6 separate regions of the Homo sapiens genome follow, and all the other regions are linked to region 2. The links are contacts of gene promoters, found by promoter capture Hi-C in blood cells and fetal thymus (Javierre and others, 2016). All regions are on one chromosome and are shown on one strand. The core of a region is centred on a gene start or on the middle of the fragment in contact, and the rest is flanking DNA. Distances in the headings are between cores, read along the strand shown.

Evidence for each region. Contacts are between HindIII fragments. The CHiCAGO score rates a contact against its expected background, and 5 or more counts as called.
Region 1: a contact is called between a fragment that was not itself captured here and the fragment with the promoter of BMP10 in region 2, in 3 of 17 cell types (naive CD4 T cells, non-activated CD4 T cells and naive CD8 T cells). The highest score is 7.5, in naive CD4 T cells.
Region 3: a contact is called between a fragment that was not itself captured here and the fragment with the promoter of BMP10 in region 2, in 1 of 17 cell types (naive CD4 T cells). The highest score is 5.8, in naive CD4 T cells.
Region 4: a fragment that was not itself captured here is called in contact with the fragment with the promoter of BMP10 in region 2 in 1 of 17 cell types (total CD8 T cells); the score reaches 5.2 in total CD8 T cells.
Region 5: a contact is called between a fragment that was not itself captured here and the fragment with the promoter of BMP10 in region 2, in 7 of 17 cell types (naive CD4 T cells, activated CD4 T cells, total CD4 T cells and 4 more). The highest score is 7.4, in naive CD4 T cells.
Region 6: a contact is called between a fragment that was not itself captured here and the fragment with the promoter of BMP10 in region 2, in 1 of 17 cell types (non-activated CD4 T cells). The highest score is 5.4, in non-activated CD4 T cells.

The regions. Positions count from the first base shown.
Region 1 is chr2:68,679,866-68,683,010 of GRCh38, reverse strand. No RefSeq gene overlaps it. Among named protein-coding and RNA genes, the nearest start is that of PROKR1, 38 kb to the right of the region's middle. RefSeq lists an enhancer at 2,630-3,145. The HindIII fragment of the contact is 2,094 bases long and covers 364-2,457 here.
Region 2 is chr2:68,869,997-68,873,515 of GRCh38, reverse strand. BMP10 (bone morphogenetic protein 10) reads left to right here and starts at 2,119. Exons shown (of 2, transcript NM_014482.3): 1 at 2,119-2,491. The coding sequence starts at 2,158. RefSeq lists a silencer at 2,143-2,303. The HindIII fragment of the contact is 2,140 bases long and covers 1,012-3,151 here.
Region 3 is chr2:68,740,735-68,744,075 of GRCh38, reverse strand. All of the region lies in intron 1 of ARHGAP25 (Rho GTPase activating protein 25), which reads right to left. Among named protein-coding and RNA genes, the nearest start is that of ARHGAP25, 7.6 kb to the right of the region's middle. The HindIII fragment of the contact is 4,735 bases long and covers 1-3,341 here.
Region 4 is chr2:68,716,808-68,720,020 of GRCh38, reverse strand. It overlaps a transcript of ARHGAP25 not described here. Among named protein-coding and RNA genes, the nearest start is that of ARHGAP25, 16 kb to the left of the region's middle. The HindIII fragment of the contact is 1,420 bases long and covers 1,139-2,558 here.
Region 5 is chr2:68,698,854-68,702,367 of GRCh38, reverse strand. No RefSeq gene overlaps it. Among named protein-coding and RNA genes, the nearest start is that of ARHGAP25, 34 kb to the left of the region's middle. The HindIII fragment of the contact is 6,753 bases long and covers 1-3,514 here.
Region 6 is chr2:68,624,217-68,627,452 of GRCh38, reverse strand. It overlaps the pseudogene LOC100379290. Among named protein-coding and RNA genes, the nearest start is that of PROKR1, 18 kb to the left of the region's middle. The HindIII fragment of the contact is 3,535 bases long and covers 1-3,104 here.

The DNA of each region.
Region 1 (3,145 bases), core at 161-2,660, 190 kb after region 2:
TTAGGTCATTAATTTTAAACCATTTTCCTTTAAGTATAAGCATTTAAAACTATAAATTTTTTCTAAGAACTGTCCCACAAATACTGATATATTATGTTTTATTATCATCCAGTTCAAAATATTTTTTCCTTATAATTTCTTCTTTGAATCATTGGATTATTTTTAAATGTGCTAATTTCTAAACTCTGAAGAATTATTTTAGCTGTATAATTGATATTGATTTATTATCCAATCACATTTGTCAGAGAACATACTCTGTATAATGTCAATTCTTTGATATTTATTAAAACTTGTTTTATGACCCAGCCGATAATCTATCTTGGAAAATCAATGTGTATTTTGTAGTTGTTGGATACTTAAGCTTTTTAAATATATTGGCATAAAGTTGTTCATGATAATGTCTTATGATTTTTAAAAGAGCTACTCTATTTGTACTTATATCGTACTTTCATAATTTTTTTTTCCTGCCTTTTCTTCTTGTGTCCTTTGTCAATTTTGACAGGGATTTCCCTCTTCTACAAGTCTTTTTAAAGAACAAACTTTACTGGTTTCATTGACCATCCACATTTTAATTTTTATTGTTTTCTGTGTTACTAATTTCTGATTTCTAAATTTTTGTTTACTAAGCTGTGGCATACCTTCCACCATGAAAGACTAAGTTCCATGTGGGAAAGGAAAGGACCTTTTCTCTCTAAATAAGTATTTAAGTAAATGAATACATGAAACAACTAATGTTTATGTGCCGCTTCCAGCATACAACCTGGTGTATGCTGAACAACCTGGTGTATGTTAGTACACAGGACTCATTTGTTTAATTCTTAACTCCTTCCCTCTCGGTAACATTTAATGCATCCTCTTCTTTCACACAGCCTCTGTTTGCTAGTGTTCCAGGACTTAATCATTGGCCATCTCTTCTTTCTATGCATACCTTCTAGACAATCTCATGTGATCCAATGGCATTAAATATTGTCTAGACATTGATGGCTCGATTTCCAGTCCCCGTTTTTCTCAAGATTTCCAGAATGGTATATCTGAGTACCTTCTCAATTCCTTCATTCTAACTTAACACTTAAACTTACTCTTTTTGAATATCTTACTACTCTCCCAAAGCCTGGTTATCCCCAGCACTCCCAATACATGAAATGTTACCACTCTTTGCCCCGTTTTTCAGGAAAAACCTTGGAAGCACCCCAACTCTTCTGTCTTCCTATATTTAATACTGGTAAAGTCCTATTAGTTTCAAATTCAAAATATAGCCTGAATCCATCCACTTTTCCCATTGAAATAGTCCTCCCAAATAGATCCAATGTCCCATTTGAGCTGTCAAACACGTATGGGCACATACCTGTGCATGTGTGTTCTGCCCCTGGCCCACCACACATGCAGGAAAGAACATCTTAATGACTGTGGATTTGCTAGAAAAATGTGAACTTTCCATTAAAACCTAACTACATTTATGGCATCAATTTTTAAGTGAAGCTGAATATGACTACCTTACTGATATGGTTTGGCTGTGTCCCCATCCAAATCTCATCTAGAATTGTAGTTCCTATAATTCCCACATGTCATGGGAGGGACCCAGTGGGAGGTAATTGAATCATGGGGGTGGGACGGGTCTTTCAGGTGCTGTTCTTATAAATAGTGAATAAGTCTCAGGAGATCTGATGGTTTCATAAAGAGGAGTTCCCCTGTACATGCTCTCTTTGCTTGCTGCCATGTAAGACATTCCTTTGCTCTTCCTTCATCTTCCACCATGATTGTGAGGCCTCCCCAACCATGTGGAACTGTGAGTCCATTAAACCTCTTCCTTTATAAATTACCCAGTCTTTGGTACATCTTTATTAGCAGTATGAGAACAGACTAATACACTTGCCTAGGACACATTTATATCTCACCAGGACTAGCGCTTCCTAACTGGCCTCCTTGTCCCACCCCTGCAACCACAGTCTATTCTACACATGATAGGGAGAATGCACATGTTAAAGGCACTTCGTATTGATTACTCCTCCACTCGAAATTCCCCTATGTCTTCTCAAACACTTAGAATAAAATACAAAGTCCTTCCACGGACTACATGGTCTTGTGTAATTTGGCTTCTGGCTCCCCAGTTTCTATCACTAATTTTCCTCCATTCTATTCACTCTGCACCACCTACCCCGGCCTTCTCACTATTCCTTAAACACTCCAGTCTTTTTCCCATTTCAGGGCCTTTGCACTTTTTCTTCAACCTGGAATTTTCTGCCCAGATATGCCAACAGCTTTTTCCTTTACCTTATTGAGGTGTCTGCTCACATGCCACCTCTTTCAAGAAAACTAAATCTAAAACAGCCATCAATCTAAAATAACCATCATCCCCAATTGCTGTTGGTCTTCATTTTCTTCATTTTCTACAGTATATATTCATTTGTTTATTCCCTGTCTATCCCCACAAGGATATAAACTCCAGAAGCCAAAGCTTTTTCTGATTTTCCCACCCACCAGACTTCTAGTGTTTAGAGCACTGCTTGCCACATAGTAGGCCTGTAATAAGTATTTGTTAAGTGAATGCATGAAGTAACAACTTTGAACTTACACTGCAACCCTAACTGAATGGGAAAACAATTTTTCTAAAATCCTACTACCAATTAGTTATGCAATCTTCAGCAAATTCCTAGAGCCAAACTTTCTTTTCTATAAAACAAAGAGTTTAGATTAAATAATTGCTACATTGTTTTCCAGCTTGTATATGTTCACTTTATAAACCCTAAAATTTCTGTAGAAAAATAGAGAATGCAGAAATAAAGCTGTACACCTATAGCCATCAAATCTTTGACAAAATTGACCAAAATAAGCAATGGGGAAAGTATCCCCTATTCAATAAATAGTACTGGAATAGCTTGCTAGCCATATGCAGAAGAATGAAACTGGACCCTTACCTTTCACTATATACAAAAATTGAGGAGGAGCCAAGATGGCCGAATAGGAACAGCTCCGGTCTACAGCTACCAGCGTGAGCGACGCAGAAGATGGGTGATTTCTGCATTTCCATCTGAGGTACCGGGTTCATCTCACTAGGGAGTGCCAGACAGTGGGCGCAGGTCAGTGGGTGCGCGCACTGTGCGCGAGCCAAAGCAGGGCGAGGCATTGCCTCACTTGGGAAGCGCAA
Region 2 (3,519 bases), core at 870-3,369:
GGAATAGAAAGTTTGAATCAAAATTGAACATTGAATCAAAATCAAAACTATTAAACAAATAGACAATTAACAACTACTAAACAAAATATGGTTCTTTCTATGGTAATTTAAAAAATGGCTGTAACATTGTACATTTTAGGAGGAAAAAGAATCAAAAGATGACTAGAAACCTAAGTGAGCCTGGAGAAAAAGTTAAGTGGAGACATTGTAGCTAAACGATGAGCATGAATATAGGAAAATTTAACCTAGAAACTGAGAAAGGATTCCAGTGAACCAAATATCTTGACACAGCCCTTGGAACACAGCACCAGGACGCGTGAGTAATGGTGTGCACGTCAGAAAGATACCAGAACTACCACCTCAGTGGGAAAAACATCCCCTGGGCTTGTCCGCAGGGCCTCTCTGGCTGCACCCCGGCTGCTACTGTCACTAGTTAGAATGGAAAATGTGATGAACCTGATTTGTCTTTCCTAATCTGGACACACAATCGATTCTACCATTTTTATTTTCAGGACCAAGGCATTTGGCGTTTTTTGTGTGCCTAGTAATGTTGTTTGCCGAGTGTATTAGTCAGGGTTCTCTAGAGGGACAGAACTAATAGGGGATGGAGATATATTTCTGAGTTTATTAAGTATTAACTCACACGATCACAAGGTCCCACAATAGGCTGTCTGCAAGCTAAGGATCGAGGAGAGCCAGTCCAAGTTCCCCGACTGAAGAACTTGGAGTCCCATATTCAAGGACAGGAAGCATCCAGCATGGGAGAAAGATAGGCTGAAAGTCTAGGCCAGTCTCGTCTTTTCACGTTTTTCTGCCTGCTTTATATTCTAACCGTGCTGGCGGCTGATTAGATGGTGCCTAGCTAGATTAAGGGTGGGTCTACCTTTCCCAGCCCACTGATTCAAATGTTAATCTCCTTTGGCAACACCCTCACAGACACACCCGGGATCAATACTTTGCATCCTGCAATCCAATCAAGTTGACAGTAAGTATTAACCATCACACCAAGCTTTTGCTGGAGCCTCTTGATGACAATTTTGATTGAGTCAGAAGGATGAATTTCGCAGAGATGTTGGTTATATTAACAACTCATTGCACAGATGGAGGACCTGAGGTCCACATCCAGCTACAAATTTCTGCCTGCCTCCTGCCTCCAGGCTGATCTGGGGACGTGTTGGCCTCTCAGCATTATTGCCCATGCCCTAGTCTGGTAGAAGAGTGGTTTAAAAGTGTGACTGTTTTATTCTTCATAAGAATCAGGCTGCCTTGGTTGAAATTGTGGCCCCATCACTTTGCAACTTTGTGGCCTCTGGCAAGCTATGGCACTTCACTGACCCATATATGTGATGGAGATAATGATACGGTTATTACAGGAGCACACTTGATGATAGGTGTAAAGCACTCAGTACAATGCCTGTTTGTAGGAAGCATCTAATAAATTCTAGTTGCCAGTATAACTAAGCACTTGCCCTATTTTTCAAATGCTATTTTAGCCAGATCAAATAGGTAGGAAAAAGCCTGTCAATCATGAAGTTTATACTTTCCTGTTTCTAAAAAGGTACACTTCTAAAAATTTATATAATTCATTTATAGCTATTAACTTAAACTTGGAAAGTTTGGATATTTGGTCTGTCTTCACAAGTGTTTATCTGAGCCCTACCTCTCAAATTAACATGTATCACCATTGATGTGCATTATGTTGATTCTTATACCTATTATATGCATGTGTGAAACTAAGCCCCATAAAAACAGAATTTAGGCATTCCTGCTGAAAGGAAGTGAATTGAAGGGAAGAGAAGCAGAGCCTTTGCAAAGAGAAAATTGTCCTATCTCTCAACCAGTGTCAGAATGTGGAAATGTTTACAAAATGCTCATTAAAAGAAATAGGGATTGCAAGATAGAAACAAATTCTGGTGCACAAGTTTACACTAGGGAGATAAGAAAGGCTAGGCCCCTATAGGGGATTTTGTTATCCAATTACTGCAACCTGACTTTTAGGGGGAGAGGAAGAGTGGTAGGGGGAGGGAGAGAGAGAGGAAGAGTTTCCAAACTTGTCTCCAGTGACAGGAGACATTTACGTTCCACAAGATAAAACTGCCACTTAGAGCCCAGGGAAGCTAAACCTTCCTGGCTTGGCCTAGGAGCTCGAGCGGAGTCATGGGCTCTCTGGTCCTGACACTGTGCGCTCTTTTCTGCCTGGCAGCTTACTTGGTTTCTGGCAGCCCCATCATGAACCTAGAGCAGTCTCCTCTGGAAGAAGATATGTCCCTCTTTGGTGATGTTTTCTCAGAGCAAGACGGTGTCGACTTTAACACACTGCTCCAGAGCATGAAGGATGAGTTTCTTAAGACACTAAACCTCTCTGACATCCCCACGCAGGATTCAGCCAAGGTGGACCCACCAGAGTACATGTTGGAACTCTACAACAAATTTGCAACAGATCGGACCTCCATGCCCTCTGCCAACATCATTAGGAGTTTCAAGAATGAAGGTAAGTTTTTGCTGATGAAATTTTGCTAGGATTTTTTTCAAGACACAATAAGTAAATTTACAATGCATGGGAATGATATAGGTAAGGGTAAATACATCTATATAAGGATGTTAAATACATATGGATACACAAAAACAAGGCACATTTTGTTCTATACCAATTATATAGTCATTTCAGGAACCTCGAAAAATACTTACAAACATCTTTTAATCCAAAGCCACAAAACATCTATCAATTTGACATCATAATTGGGTCCTTTTAAAAAATGTTAATTTGAACACCAAGTAATACAAAGAATTAATGTTGGTCTACTGCCGTACCTTTGTCATTTTCCAAATAGGCCTTGATTGCCATATGGGCTTTTAATTAACTAAAAAATTTCTCAACTTCTACTTAGAATAAAAAGGGTAAAAACAGTCAAAAAACATCAAATTGTGATTTGTGTTTTGTTCAAACTTTTGATAAGTTTTTATTTTGTGACCTTATTTAAGAAATGTTCAAACAGGATGGAAATATATTTTAAAGATTCTTCCTAAGGCTGTGTTGTTTGATGTGTCATGTACATCCTTAAAGCACTGTTTACAGTTTCCAGGAAGTGTAGATGGCCCATTAATCATCCAGCTCATCATTTCCGTCTTTATAAAGAGCAACGTACAAGCTTTGAATTATTGGTGGGAAAAGTGTGTTTTCTTCTCTTAGGTCTTTAAATTTGGTAACTAAATCTAATGAGCTAGCAAGTTAATGTTTTTGTTTGTTTGTTTGTTTGTTTGTTTTTTGGTTAATATGGTCCTAGTAGGAAAAAAAACCCCTGATATCTAGATATCTATAGTAGAAGCTGAAGGTCCAAAGGAACTAATTTAATTTTTGCCAGTTATGCTTTTATAGTCACTAACCAGGTATAAAAGAAGCTTCCCGTTAATATTGGCCAGATGTTCTTGAAAGAAGAAAGGTAATAGTGAAGAAATAGCTCAGGATTTGGGATTTTGAGAGCTAGTTGGCTTAGTGGTTGTGAATAATTAGCTGATGCC
Region 3 (3,341 bases), core at 583-3,082, 130 kb after region 2:
AGCATGACAGTTTCAAGGAGGCTGAAAAATGAATTTGGAAGGATTTCTAACCATGAGTACTAAAAAGAAAGAATAATGACTCCAGGTTTAAAGATATTTTCTCCTAAATCAATTTTTGCCATAAATTGTGTGGCTTCTCAGGAAATTCAATTCAAGAAACATACAAAGCACCTAACACAATTACAGCTTTGTTTCCCTGGGCCTAGCGACCTGATTCTAGGGTTACTTTCCTGGTTTTCACACTGAGTTCCATGTCCCACGAGCCCCCTGAGTCCCAGACAAATCAGGCCAGCTGTCACTCTACCTGGGAAAGAGAATGAGGAACGCTCACAGGAAGAAGATCAGTGCCAAAATCAAGATCAAACAGATTGGTCTCAGGACAGAGCACAAGGGCTGGGCTGAGAATGGACTGGAGGTGACAACTCTACATCTGCTATCATTTTTACTCTGAGATGTCTGCATAAGGAGATTCCTCACTCACTAATAAAGTGGATTTCTGGCTTCTGAATGACCAGGTGCATGGAATCAAATGCAGAATGACAGTCAAAGAGGAAGAATGCATGCACAAGAATCTTTGGGTAGCAACAGCAGAATTGAGGACAAGAAAGGCGGGAGCCTCATTTTGAAGGTCCTGCTCTTCCCCCACAATTATATCTACAAATAATGATCTGAAAGAGAATGGTAGGCCAGGTACAGGACTCTTAGAGCTAATAGGAAAAACTGCTCTGCCATTGCTGTAACCCACATGTAAGTGATCACAAGCAGTTAAACACTGAGCCCCTGAAGCCCACACTAACAACTTCCAACCTCACTTCAGTGGCCAGAGGTACGCATGACAGTAGGAGATGGTGGGCAGCTCTGGAGGAGGAAGCACTAAGTCATGGAGGAGGGTCTTCCACACAGCAAACAACCCAGAGTCACTCTTTGCCTACCCAAAGCAAGGAAAGTTTGAGGAACTGCTCCTGTCATAGCACAGAGACAATGACATTTCTACAGCAGGAATTCTGCAGGAAACTTACCAGAAGCTATCATTATCCTTATTAGAAAGTCACAACTCAGGCATTTTACTTATTTGGAAAATAACTGGCAAAAATAGACAAACAAAACAAAGCAAAAAGGAAGAAAACAAGAATAGCCATGCAGACAAAATTGACACAATTCATGCAAATTGAGAAGGAAGTGAGTACATGGCATTTGGAAGCATAAAGAGTAAGAAGCAGAACATAACCAGTCAACTGCAGATCAGCATGTGTGCTGTGAGCCAGGAGCAGACACTGGGCAGGAAAGGAGATATCTGCAGATGTTGTAAAGACCATATGTCTAAAGAAAAGAATGAAGAACTAAACCTAATCAAGACAAACAAAACCTTGGCACTGCTGGCTGTGGTTTTCACCAATGACTTGATTCAAAGGAGCTGATATCAGATCTCCATTATAGCTAATGTCCATAACAATAATGATAATTACTAGTGTTTATGAAGCACTTACTAGACACCAGCTCTTATGCTAAAGTTTGACATAGATCATCTTCTCTTACCCTCACAATAACTGCATGAGTTAGCACTAGGATTGCACTCATTTTACAGTTGGAAAACCTGAGGTCCAACGTCACACAGTGACCGATCGATGATACTGGGATTCAAATTCAGGCATTCTGGCCCCAAAGCCAGCTTTTTAACCACTGTATGATAGCTGGCTCATTCCATTATGGTTAGTTTACACTTTGTCAGAAAATTCTTTTTGTCAACTTTATAAAATTATTTTAAAATATTAAAAAGTATTCACATCACACTCAGGAACTCTATATCTTACTGCTTCCTCTTTCACTTTGAAACTCCAAACCAACAAGGAAGCAAATGGTTCAGCCACCATAGGCCAAAATTCCAGCAGTGGGGTATCGCAGCCCCATCCAGAGCTGAGATCCATGTGTGCATATTTTGGGGGTGGATGGATAGTACGGCGTGGAAAGGAGACAGTGCGGCAGCTGTCACCTTAGTCAGTCACAGCTTAAGGAGAATAGATGGTAGTAGCAAAGTTGAGCATCACTTTTAGAAAGGTGGAGGGGTGGTGAGGGGTGCTTGCAGCATGAGAGGCACAGCAGGGCAATGCTGCTTAAGTACCTCTCACATACAAGTGAGCAAATACATGTTTTATGATGAGTGACTCAATGAGTGCATGAAATGAAATGACTGGTCTGAATGTACTGAAGATTGCATAATTTTATGTAACTCTAGGTAAAGAATATGAGTGGTCATGGAATTGCGTTTTACTTTATGAACTAAAAGAAATAACTTTCAACATTTTAATATTCCTTGAACCTTTCTTAGATAAATTGCAATGCTCAGTCACTACTAAAAAGTAGGAAATCTGAAGCTGAGTGTGGTGGCTCATGCATATAATCCCAGCACTTTGGGAGACTGAGGCAGGAGGACTGCTTGGGCCCAGGAGTTCGAGACCAGCCTGGGCAACATAGTGAGACTCCCCCATCTATATTTTTAAATAATAACATTTTTTAAAGTATGGAAATTATTTGCAATGAACACATAAACTCTGATCAAAGACAAAGACTAAAAGTATGCTAATCAAATGGGCGTTAGAAGTTGTGACTCAGCTTCAAATTTAGCTCTGCTTCCTGGCAGCCAAGACAAAGAGGAGAACACAGTAAGTTGCACTCCTGTCTTACTAGAAAGGAGGAAGCACTGCAGTCCCTCAAAGAAGACAAAGTTATTTTCTGAGCACTGAATTCCCAAGCAACTTTCTCACATAGAGTTATACATAGAAGTTGCTGGCGTTCTCCATTCTTCATTCTCATTTTTCCAGTACAATTAGGAGCAGATTTCATGAAATCATTACTTGCAGGGAAGCTATAAACTGAAGATATAACATTAAAAGACAACTCAGTGAGCCCTATTCTGCGAGGGTAGCAAGATAATGTAATCCAAGTACAGCTTCTAGTCTGATCTGAGGTTGGAAATGAGACTGCCTATAAAGAAAGGAAAGAGATGTTTGCTGAGCACCTAATATATGTCATACGCATGAAATATTTTCTTCCTCTCAGCATATGTGTTACTCTCTCATTTGTAGAAGCTAAGCAACTTGCCCCAGATTCACTACTGCTTAAAGCAGAGTCCCAAGCTCATGCACACTTTCCTATATCACACGTCCTCCTTTCTTTCACAATTTTTATCAAGAAGAGTCAATGGACAATTTAGCCCCTTTCTTTGGGCAATCTGAGGTTATTCTCCCCAGTGAGGGCCTAGAGTGCTGGTGTTACATACCGTATTAAGAACAACTCATTTTGTTCAAAAGCCAAAGGATCAGTTACTTGTGGGGTTGACTCAT
Region 4 (3,213 bases), core at 599-3,098, 150 kb after region 2:
TTCCTTTTCAAAAGGAAATCTTTAAGCATGGACTTTAGATCAGTGAACGCGACAGGTCACTGGACAAACCTGGACATAGGCGTACCTTATTCTGAGTTTGGGAATAAAACAGGTGATTATGATGGTGGCATGAGTCAGGTACCAAGAGAAGGTCAGAGGCTGGGACCCATGGGGGTCTGGGTACCAACCCCTGCTCTGTCATTACTGGGATTTCTGAACCCCAGACTTCTCATCTACATGGATAGGGTGATAATATCTACTGTGGGGTATTCTTATAAGAAGTAGGTTTCATGTATATGTAAAGTGCCTGGGTCATAGCAGGCACTTGTTAAACAGTAGTGTTAATAATCATTAAGTTACCTTAAAATGGTATCTGACAGCAAAGTTGTGGTAGGCTGAATAACAGCCCCCGAGGATATCCACATCCTAATCCCTAGAACATGAGAATGTGTTCCTTTACATGTATATAGAAAAAAAAAAGTTATTTTTTTCCTCTACATTTTCAACACTTTGCATCTGGTCACCAAAATGTGGGCGTTGTTCTTATTTGTTTGTTTGTTTTGTGGGGTTTTTTTTCTTTTTTTTTTTTTTTGCCATGTCGACCAATTCCCTGATACCAGCTGGGTGTCCTACAATTCAATTCGGTTCTGACACTATCTACCTGGAGTTAGCATCAGGTGCCACAGACGAAGGGCGCAGTCTTTCAAAACTGCCCCCACTTCAGACACCAGTCAAAAGTCCAGGGTTCTCACTTGTGCTTCTAACAGACTGGCCATAAACTGGGGCTCCCATGACCCTCTCCTTGGGGTTGATAATTTGCTAGAATAGTTTAAAAAACTCAGGGAGACACTTATTGTGTTTGCCATTTTCTTTTATAATAAAGGACATAAAGAGGTATATAGGATGAGGTCTGGAAGGGCTCTGAGTGCAGGAGCTTCTATTCCTGTGGAGCTGGGGTGCACCACACTTCTGGTACATGGATGTGTTTACCAACCCCAGAGCTCTCCAAAACCCATACTTGAGGGAAATTTTTTTTTCTTGGAGGCTTCATCATGTAGGCTTGATCTATTACTAACTCAATCTCTAGCTCTTCTGCCCTCCCCAGAGAATGAAGGTTGGGAATTAAAAGTGCTAAGCTTCTAATCATGGCCTTGTCTTTCTGATGACAAGCCCCTATCCTAAAGCTATCCAAGGCCTCATCAAGAGTTGTTTCATTTGAATAAAAGACACTCTTATCACCCAGAAAATACCAAGAAATTTAAGAGCTCTGTGTCAGGAACTGGACTCAAAGACCAAATGTTAGAACAAATGATGCTGCTAGTACCCGTACCACTTAGGGAATTAGAAAAGTTTAGGAGCTCTATGTCAGGAACCAGGGTCAGAGACAAATATCTCTATCTATGTATCTATCTAGGTATCTATGTACCTATCTATCTGTCTAGGTATCTATCTATTTATCTATCTATACATACACACACACACACACACACTTATATATTTCTTATTATTTCACAATATGGTAAAAGTACTTTGCAGATGCGATTAAGTCAAGGATATTGAGATGGGGATGCCATGCTGGATTATCCAAGTGTGCCCTTATAAGAAGGAGGTAAGAAGAGATTTGACTGTAGAAGTAGAAAGTGTGAGTACAAAACAAAGTTCAGAAAGATGGAAGAAAGGGGCCATCAGGCAATGCTGGAAGCCTCTAGAAGCTGGGAAAGGTGAGAAAATGATTCTCCCCTTAGATCCTCCAGAAAAAGAAAATGTGATGTGATGCTGCTGGTCTCTGGATCAGACTTTGAGTAGCCAGGCTCTAGAGGTCTACTTTGAGGGGACACATTTGATTGGCAAAGAAGATACTTTTTTTTTTTTTTAACAAATCTGCCCTTAACTAAGTTCCCAATTCTCTGTAACCCTTTATAACACTCTTTGATGAGTGCATAGTAGCTGCTGAGTGTTCACAGCTGGTAGTACACCATTTACTTCTACTCCCACCAAGTGAATTATCTGTTGCCCAGCTAATGCATTCCAAGATGATATAAACCGTACTTACTATTCTAATTATATGATAAAGTGGGTTACTTAAACCAATGAAATATGAGTGCAAAAGAAAAAACAGAGCTCTTTTTATGAATATTAAGTTAATGGCTTTGGAAAGGAAGAATAAATTTATATTGGCAAAAATATGTCAATTCACATGTGGGTAAGTGGAAGGGGGACTCATAAAAACCCCTACACTTGGAACACCTTAAAATATGTCTTAGTTTTCACTCCCACTTTAAAGAAACCAGAACTTTTCTGCCATTGCTTTATGGATAGTGTTTATACAAAGAAAAGCCATAGGAATATGCATCTGCTTTTTAAGTTGGAATGTGAAAGGCCGAGTGACTGCTGTCACTCAATAGCGGTGATGATAGGTTTGCTCACAGCTCAGACCTTTGGCTTCACATATGCAAGACTGCAGTTTTTACCTAACACCCTTGTCAAGCCTCAACTCCACAAACCTGTCAGAGGCTGTGATTAAGTTATCGTCTTTTGCAGAGGAAGTGTCTAAAGCTTAAAAAGAAAAGATTGAATTGACTCAGTTCTAGAGCCAGTAAAAGCCTCAACATCCTGACCCTGGGCCAGATCACAATGCTTCTCCCATACTGTGCCTTTTAACATAGAGGTCCCTGATTCACACAGCAATGAACCTAAGGTTTGATGTATTCAGTCATGTGCCACATAAAGACATTTCTGTTGATGACAGATCCCATATACAGTAGTGGTTTCATAAGATAATAATATTGTATTTTACTGTACCTTTTCTATGTTTAGATATGTTTAGATGCACAAATACTTACCACTGTGTTACAATTGCCTACAGTACAGTAACACGCTATACAGATTTGTAGTCTAGGAGCAATAGCCCGTACCATATGGCCTAGGTGTGTACCACCTAGTTTTGTGTAAGTATATTCTATGACATTTGCACAATGAAATCACCTGAAATCACCTAACAACCTATTTCTCAGAACATATCTTCATTGTTAAATGATGTGTGACTGTATTTAACTAAAACAGAAACATTAAGGAATACACATAAAACAAATACTGCGAAAAATATTGAATGTCACATTCTGACATTTAAAGAGAGATAGAATCTACATGAATCGTTCAACCAGGATCAAAGAGTAAAGAGAACGACCAGCTGTGGCAAAACCATGTCACAAT
Region 5 (3,514 bases), core at 509-3,008, 170 kb after region 2:
CTGCTACAGAAGACATGATTTCATTCTTTTTCACGGCTGGGCAGTATTCTATGGTATATATGTACCACATTTTCTTTATCCAATTCACTATTGATGGATAGCTAGGTAGATTCCATATCTTTGCCATTGTGAATAGTGCTGCAATGAACATAAGAGTATGTGTGTCTCTTTGGTAGAACAATTTATTTTCTTTTGGATATATACTCAGTAATGGGATTGCTGGGTTGAGTGATAGTTCTGTTTTAAGTTATTTGAGAAATCTCCAAAATCCTTTCCATAGTGGCTGAGCTAAATTTACATTTCCACCAACAGTGTATAAATGTTCCCTTTTCTCTGCAGCCTCACCAGCATCTGTTGTTTTTTGACTTTTAAATAATAGCCATTGTGATTTGTGTGAGATGGTATCTCACTGTGGTTTTGGTTTGCATTTCTTTGATGATTAGTGATGTTGAGCATTTTGTCATGTTTATTGGCTGCTTGTCTGTCTTCTTTGGAGAAATGTCTGTTTATATCTTCTGCCCATTTTTTAATGGGGTTGTCTTTTACTTGTTCAATTGTTTAAGTTCCTTATAAATCCTAGATATTAAAACTTTAATGGAAGCATATGTTCAAGGAGTATACGTTATATAATTTGAATCATTTAAAAATTATTTTAAATATTGCCTATCTTGATAAATGATGTATGTGCACTTGAAAAGAATATGTATTCTAGCGTTGTAAGTGGATTTTTCTATAATTGTAAAGTAGATAAAACTGGTTGATAGCTTTGTTCAGATTTCTATATCCTTACTTACTTTTCCTCTACTCATTTTATTTATTTCTAAGGGTAAAGTATTAAAACCTTTAGCTGTAATTTTGAATTTGCCTTTGTCTGTTTTCTGTTTTATCAGGTTGGGTTTTTAAAAATTATATTTTGAAATTCTGTTATTAGGGTCTTTGTTCCTTTTTTCCTGCACTTTTTAATTAATTTGCTATTTTTATAAATCTATTTTATTTTATTTATTGGATTATTAGCTATAACTCTTTTATTTATTTATGTATTGGTTAGTAGTTGTTATAGGACTACAGTACTTAAACTTATCACTGTCTACCTTCAAGTAATATTATGCCACTTTACATGTAGCATAAACTCCTTTCAACAGTATACTCTTATTTTCCCTTGCTCTGTCACTGTGCTATCACTGTCATACATTTTAATTTATATATATTATAAATACAACAAAAAGTTTAATTTTTGCTTTAAGCAGTCCATTATCTTTTCAAGAAATTTAGAAGAATAAAAGTCATTTAAGATTTCCTACCATATTTGCCATTTCTATCACCCTTCAATCCTCTGTGTATATCCAAATTTTATTTCCATCTAGTATTATATTCTGCTACCTAAAAAAAAAATTTTTAACCTCTATCATAGTGCTGATGTGCTGGCAATGAGTTTTCTCAGGATTTGTTCACCTAAAAAATATTCATTTCACCTTTATTGTTGAAATATATTTTCACTAGGTATATAATTCTAGGAAGACAGGTTTTTTTGTTTTTTTTTTTTTTTATTTAAGACAGTGTCCATTGTCTTCTGGCTTGCATCGATCCCAGTGAGGAGTTGGCTGTTATTCTTGTATTTGTTTTTCTGTATGCGATGGGTTTGCCCCTCCTTCTATCTTCTCTTCAAGACTTTCTCTTTCTATTTAGTTTTCAACAGTTTGGCTTTTTTCATTGTATTGTTGTTCTTTGAGCTGTTTGGATCTGTGGTTTGTTATATTTTATTAATTTTGAAAAAATTTTGACCACTATCTCTTCCAATAGTTCTTCTGCTATATTGTCTTTCTCTTCAGCTTAGCAGACTGCCTTTGTTAGATGTTTGATATTGTTCAGAAATCTTGAGTTCTTTAATTGTTTATTTTCTGTTGCTTTATTTTCTTTGTGTCTTATTTTGAGTAATTCCTAATGATATATCTTCAAATTTGCTGGTTATTTTCTCTCCTGCTTCTCTATGACATTCTAACCAAAAGAAGTATATTTCTTTAGCATCACAGATTTTAAAATCTATAACATTTGATGTGACACTTTTTTTTGAGACAGGGTCTTGCTCTGTCACCCAGGCTGGAGTGCAGTAGTATGAGCACAGCTCACTGCAGCCTCAATCTCCTGGGCTCAATCAATCCTCCTGCCTCAGCTTCCTGATTAGCTGGGACTATAGGCACAGCCACTATGCCTGGCTAATTTTTTAAAAAATATTTTTGTAGAACTGGGGTTTTGCCATGTCGCTCAGGCTTCTCTTAAACTCCAAGTCTCGAGTGATCCTCCTGCCTCATCCTCCCAGAGTGCTGGAATTACAGGCATGAGCCACTGTACCCAGCTGACACTTTTTTACAGTTTTATTTTTTTTCTGCTGAAATTTCTCATCTGCCTATACAAGCTGACCACCTTTTTTACTATATTCTGTATTATATTAATCATAGTTATTTTAAATCCTTTGGCTGATAGTTTCAACATCTTGGCCATTTCTGAGTCTTGTTCTGTTCTCTTTATCTCTTGATAATATGTTTTTCCTTTTTTTTCTCTGTCTTATAATATTTAATTGAATGCCAAACAATGAATGTTAAAGAATGGTAGAGAGTAAATTAAATAATGTTTATGTTGGAAAATTGACACAGTTATTTTTTCAGACCAAGTGTGTTTGTGTGTGTGTGTAGATGTGTGTGTAAAGGAGTGAGTTGATCTAGCCAATAATTGAGCTTAGTTTGGATTTTCTTTTTCTTTTTGGTGCTATAGTTTTAGTGTACCACTGCACTGGCTTCCTATTCCTTCAGTGGTAGATCATTGCTACCTTGTGGTAAGCAGTCTTGAGTTCCAGATGGTTTTTGTTAATAATGCCACCCTGCCTTCAGTTTTTAGCCAGGCCTGGCCTCTTGTGTCACAGAGATGGTCTCTGTACTCACTTTTACTCAGTGGTAGTTGCTGGTTCTTCAGTTGAGGCTCATGGTGGCAGCAGGGGCTGTTTCTCTGTTCTGCTTCAGCCTCAGTTTTAGGCAGTCTCTGTCTTCCTGAATCACAGAATATGGCTTTCTCTTTGTCTGTCTTCCTCCAGTGCCAGATAACCTTTGTCTTCTACGAAGTCCAGGGCCTAACACACAGGTAGGTTTCCTGCTACTCCTCCTTATAGCAACAAAACTCTGGCTTGTATTGGCAGGGAGGTTTTGGGCAAACCAGTTTCTTGCCTCTCCTTCAGTGGCAGCATACTTCAGTTTTTGTATCAGTGAATGATGTCACTCCAAGCAAATTTTCTGTTCCTTCCCCAGGAGGAGAAAGATTTTTTTCCTAGTGTCCAGGCAAGGTGGAAGAGCAGGAGTCTTTTTTACCCTCTTCAGCAACAGCCAACTTAAGCCTGGGATGAGATGGCCAGCCAGGGGATGTGGGAAGAGGAAAGTAGGTGGAAGTAATAGGGATGGGGGAGATGCAACTCTGGCAGCAGATGACTTCACCTCACATCAAATAAAGTGAAGTCCAGGATGTAGGC
Region 6 (3,236 bases), core at 88-2,587, 250 kb after region 2:
TGCTTGATAGCTGCCATATCCTGGCCGTATACCCTACTGATTTTGAGACTTTCCTTTGAGGCCTCTGGCTTGCCCTGCCTGCCATAAAAATTTGTCTTGTCTTCATCTTGAATGGTACTTGGATTTGTTGCAGGAACTGATTCAGAGCTGTGGGGTGGGAGGTGGGGCTACTCTCAGTCTCAGCACATGTGTTCTGGCTTTCCAGATCTATTTCAGGTTCTGGATCTGCCTGAATTTTCTGCACATCACATGGAGACATGGATGACTTCTTGGGCTGCTGCCAGAAGAGATGCTTCAAGCCTTGGCCAATCACATTAAAGTACTCCAGAGCACTATGGGTCATTCTAGACAATTTGTTTTCTGACTCTGTCTGCTTCCTGGCCTTTGCATCTGCAAAGTAGAAAATGTGGCATTTTCTACTTTGAAAACTTTTCATTTTCTTGATGATATTTTCCCCTTATCTCTCCTCCTCTAATTAAGGAAAGACTGCAACCAAACTATCCCTCCCTGATACAGGACACTGTACCAATAGAGCAGTCCCTCCTCCATCCTACCTCAATCACACCCTGTGGTTCTTTATAACACAGTATATCTTTGATGCTAACTGTCACCAGGAAACCTTTCTCCTTAACCCAATGAAACAATAATCGTCTTTCACTAATGTCTTAGCCGTGTGATTGTGTGACTAGATTATACTTGGAGTCAGTAACAGAAAACAAACCACATACACTAATTATAAAATCTTTGGATCTGTTTTTAATTCCATGCAACTGATGTGGTAAAGTGACAGAAGATGAGCTAAACACAAATCTGGATTTTGTTCTGTCACTATCTGGGTGGCCTTAAAAATGCTACTTGGCCTCTCTGGGTCTCAATTTTCTCACTCATTCAGAAAAATATCATTTGATTACCCTCTATGTGCCAGGTCCTGTGTTAATCACAGGTAAAGAAGACATGATCTAGACTCTGTTGGTAGGGAAGATAAATAAAAAGAAAGAAAAGAACAGAAGGGAGGGAGGGAGGGAGGGAAGGAAGGAAAGAAGGAAGGAAGGAAAGAAGGAAGGAAGGGAGGGAGGGAAGGAGGGAGGAAGGGAGGGAGGAAGGAAGGAAAGGTGAGAGGGAGGGAGACAAGGAGAAAGGGAAGGAAGGAGCAAGTAAATATATAATAATAAATTTTAACATAAAATTTGTGCTTTTCAAACTTTTACTTTAGCCAAAATACTATTTGTTCAAGACAAATCTAACGTAGCAGCACTGACTTGCAAAATACGGCATGGCCCCACCATGTTGATCTCTACCACTCTCTCCTATGGCACTCTGCCCTTGTTCATCCCACCTCTGCCACTGTGGTCTTGTCATTCCTGAATCATGCTAACTCACTCCCAACTCAGGGTCTTGCCACCTGCTGCTTCCCCTGCTTGGAACATTTCCCCCATATCTTCAGATGACCTGACCTTCATTTCATTCATATCTTTGCTTAAATATCACCTCAGAGAGGACACCTCTGATAACCCTATCTAAAATCATTTTGTGTTCCCCAGTGCCTTCCTACCTTGTTCTGCTTTATTTTTTTATCATTTATTTCCACTTGAAATTATATGTTTTTTCATTTTTATTTTCTCTCTCATCAATGTAAATTCCATGACAAGGTCTCTGCTTTCCTAATTTCTCTTTGTAACTTCTTTTATCAGGCCAGACTCATAGTAGGAGCTCCATTAATATTTGTCAAATGAACATTAGGAGAGAGATGACTAAAGGGGGAATGGTTCTGTTGAAACATTGAGATAGGAAGCTAAGTCCTGTGCAATCTATTTCCTCCCCATGTAGCCCCTGAGGACACTTTCAGGTCTAACACTGCAGGACACAAATTATTTCATCAGGAAAGAGGTCTTAAACATTAAACTTTATTTTTTATTCATTTTTAAATTCCAAAACATGTACTCTGTTCTAGAATAAAAGCTATGCTATGTGCTTGGTCTCAAGGAGACAATAACATTATCTATTCTGTTTGGAGTTTATTGTCTAGCTATAAAAAATTAATCTAAATTAATGGGATGATATGATAGAGAAGCTGGGGCACACAGAAGACAGAGTAACTGCCTGCAGGACACCTTACATTTCTCCTCCATAAAAGGGATGTTTACTTCTCAGCTACAAAGTTTACTATAAGAATAAAATGAGAAGATGGATATGAAAGTGTTTGAAATACTGCAGAACATCCTCAAAAATCCAGTGTGAGTATGATTATTCAAGATTAAATAGAACATCAGGAAAAATGGCAGAGTAAGAAACTCAGGAGTTTTGCCCCCTATGAAAGCAACAAAAAATAAACTGTCAAAATCTTTCAACATTAACTTTTTTGGAACTCTGGAAATTAGCCAGAGATTGAGTAATATAAGAACTTATTCAAAAAAAACTAGGTAAGGGCCAGGCGTGGTGGCTCACACCTGTAATCCCAGCACTTTGGGAGGCCAAGGCAGGTGGATCACAAGGTCAAGAGATCGAGACCATCCTGGCTAACATGGTGAAACCCCGTCTCTACTAAAAATACAAAAACTAACCAGGTGTGGTGGCATGTGGCATAGTCCCAGCTACTCAGAAGGCTGAGGCAGGAGAATCGCTTGAACCCAGGAGGCGGAGGTTGTAGTGAGCTGAGATGGCACCACTGCACTCCAGCCTGGTGACAGAGTGAGACTCCGTCTCGGAAAAAAAAAAAAACAAAACAAAACTGTAAGAACAACAAGCATTGTGGGGTTTCAATTTACCCTAGTGCAAGCCCTTCTCCCAGGCCCAGCAGTAGTCTTGGAAATAATAGCCTATATTCCCAGCACCACTGGAAGTGGATTAACTGTATTCACAAAAAATTTGTCATTATGTAACCTATCTGGTGACTTCCTGGAAGACTGCTTGAAAGCCTTATCTTTATCTTACTTGACTCAATACTTACCTACTGTTAAAGCTAAAGCTGCTAACCAGGGGGGCATTTGTCAAAAACAATTATAGGCAAAAGTTTTAATCATTATTGCCAAAGGCAATGAATAATAGTTGGGCAAACAATAGACTGACCTCAAAACTTGAAGAGAAAGAATGGGGAATGAAAAGCTTTAAAACACTTCCACATATTTCTGGGAATCTAGAAAGCTACATGCTTGCCCAGAGCTGTGCACATACTCAAGAAAGACGTAAAAAGGCTCTTACTTTTGGCTGACCCTGAGACTCTGTACAAAAAGAAAGTG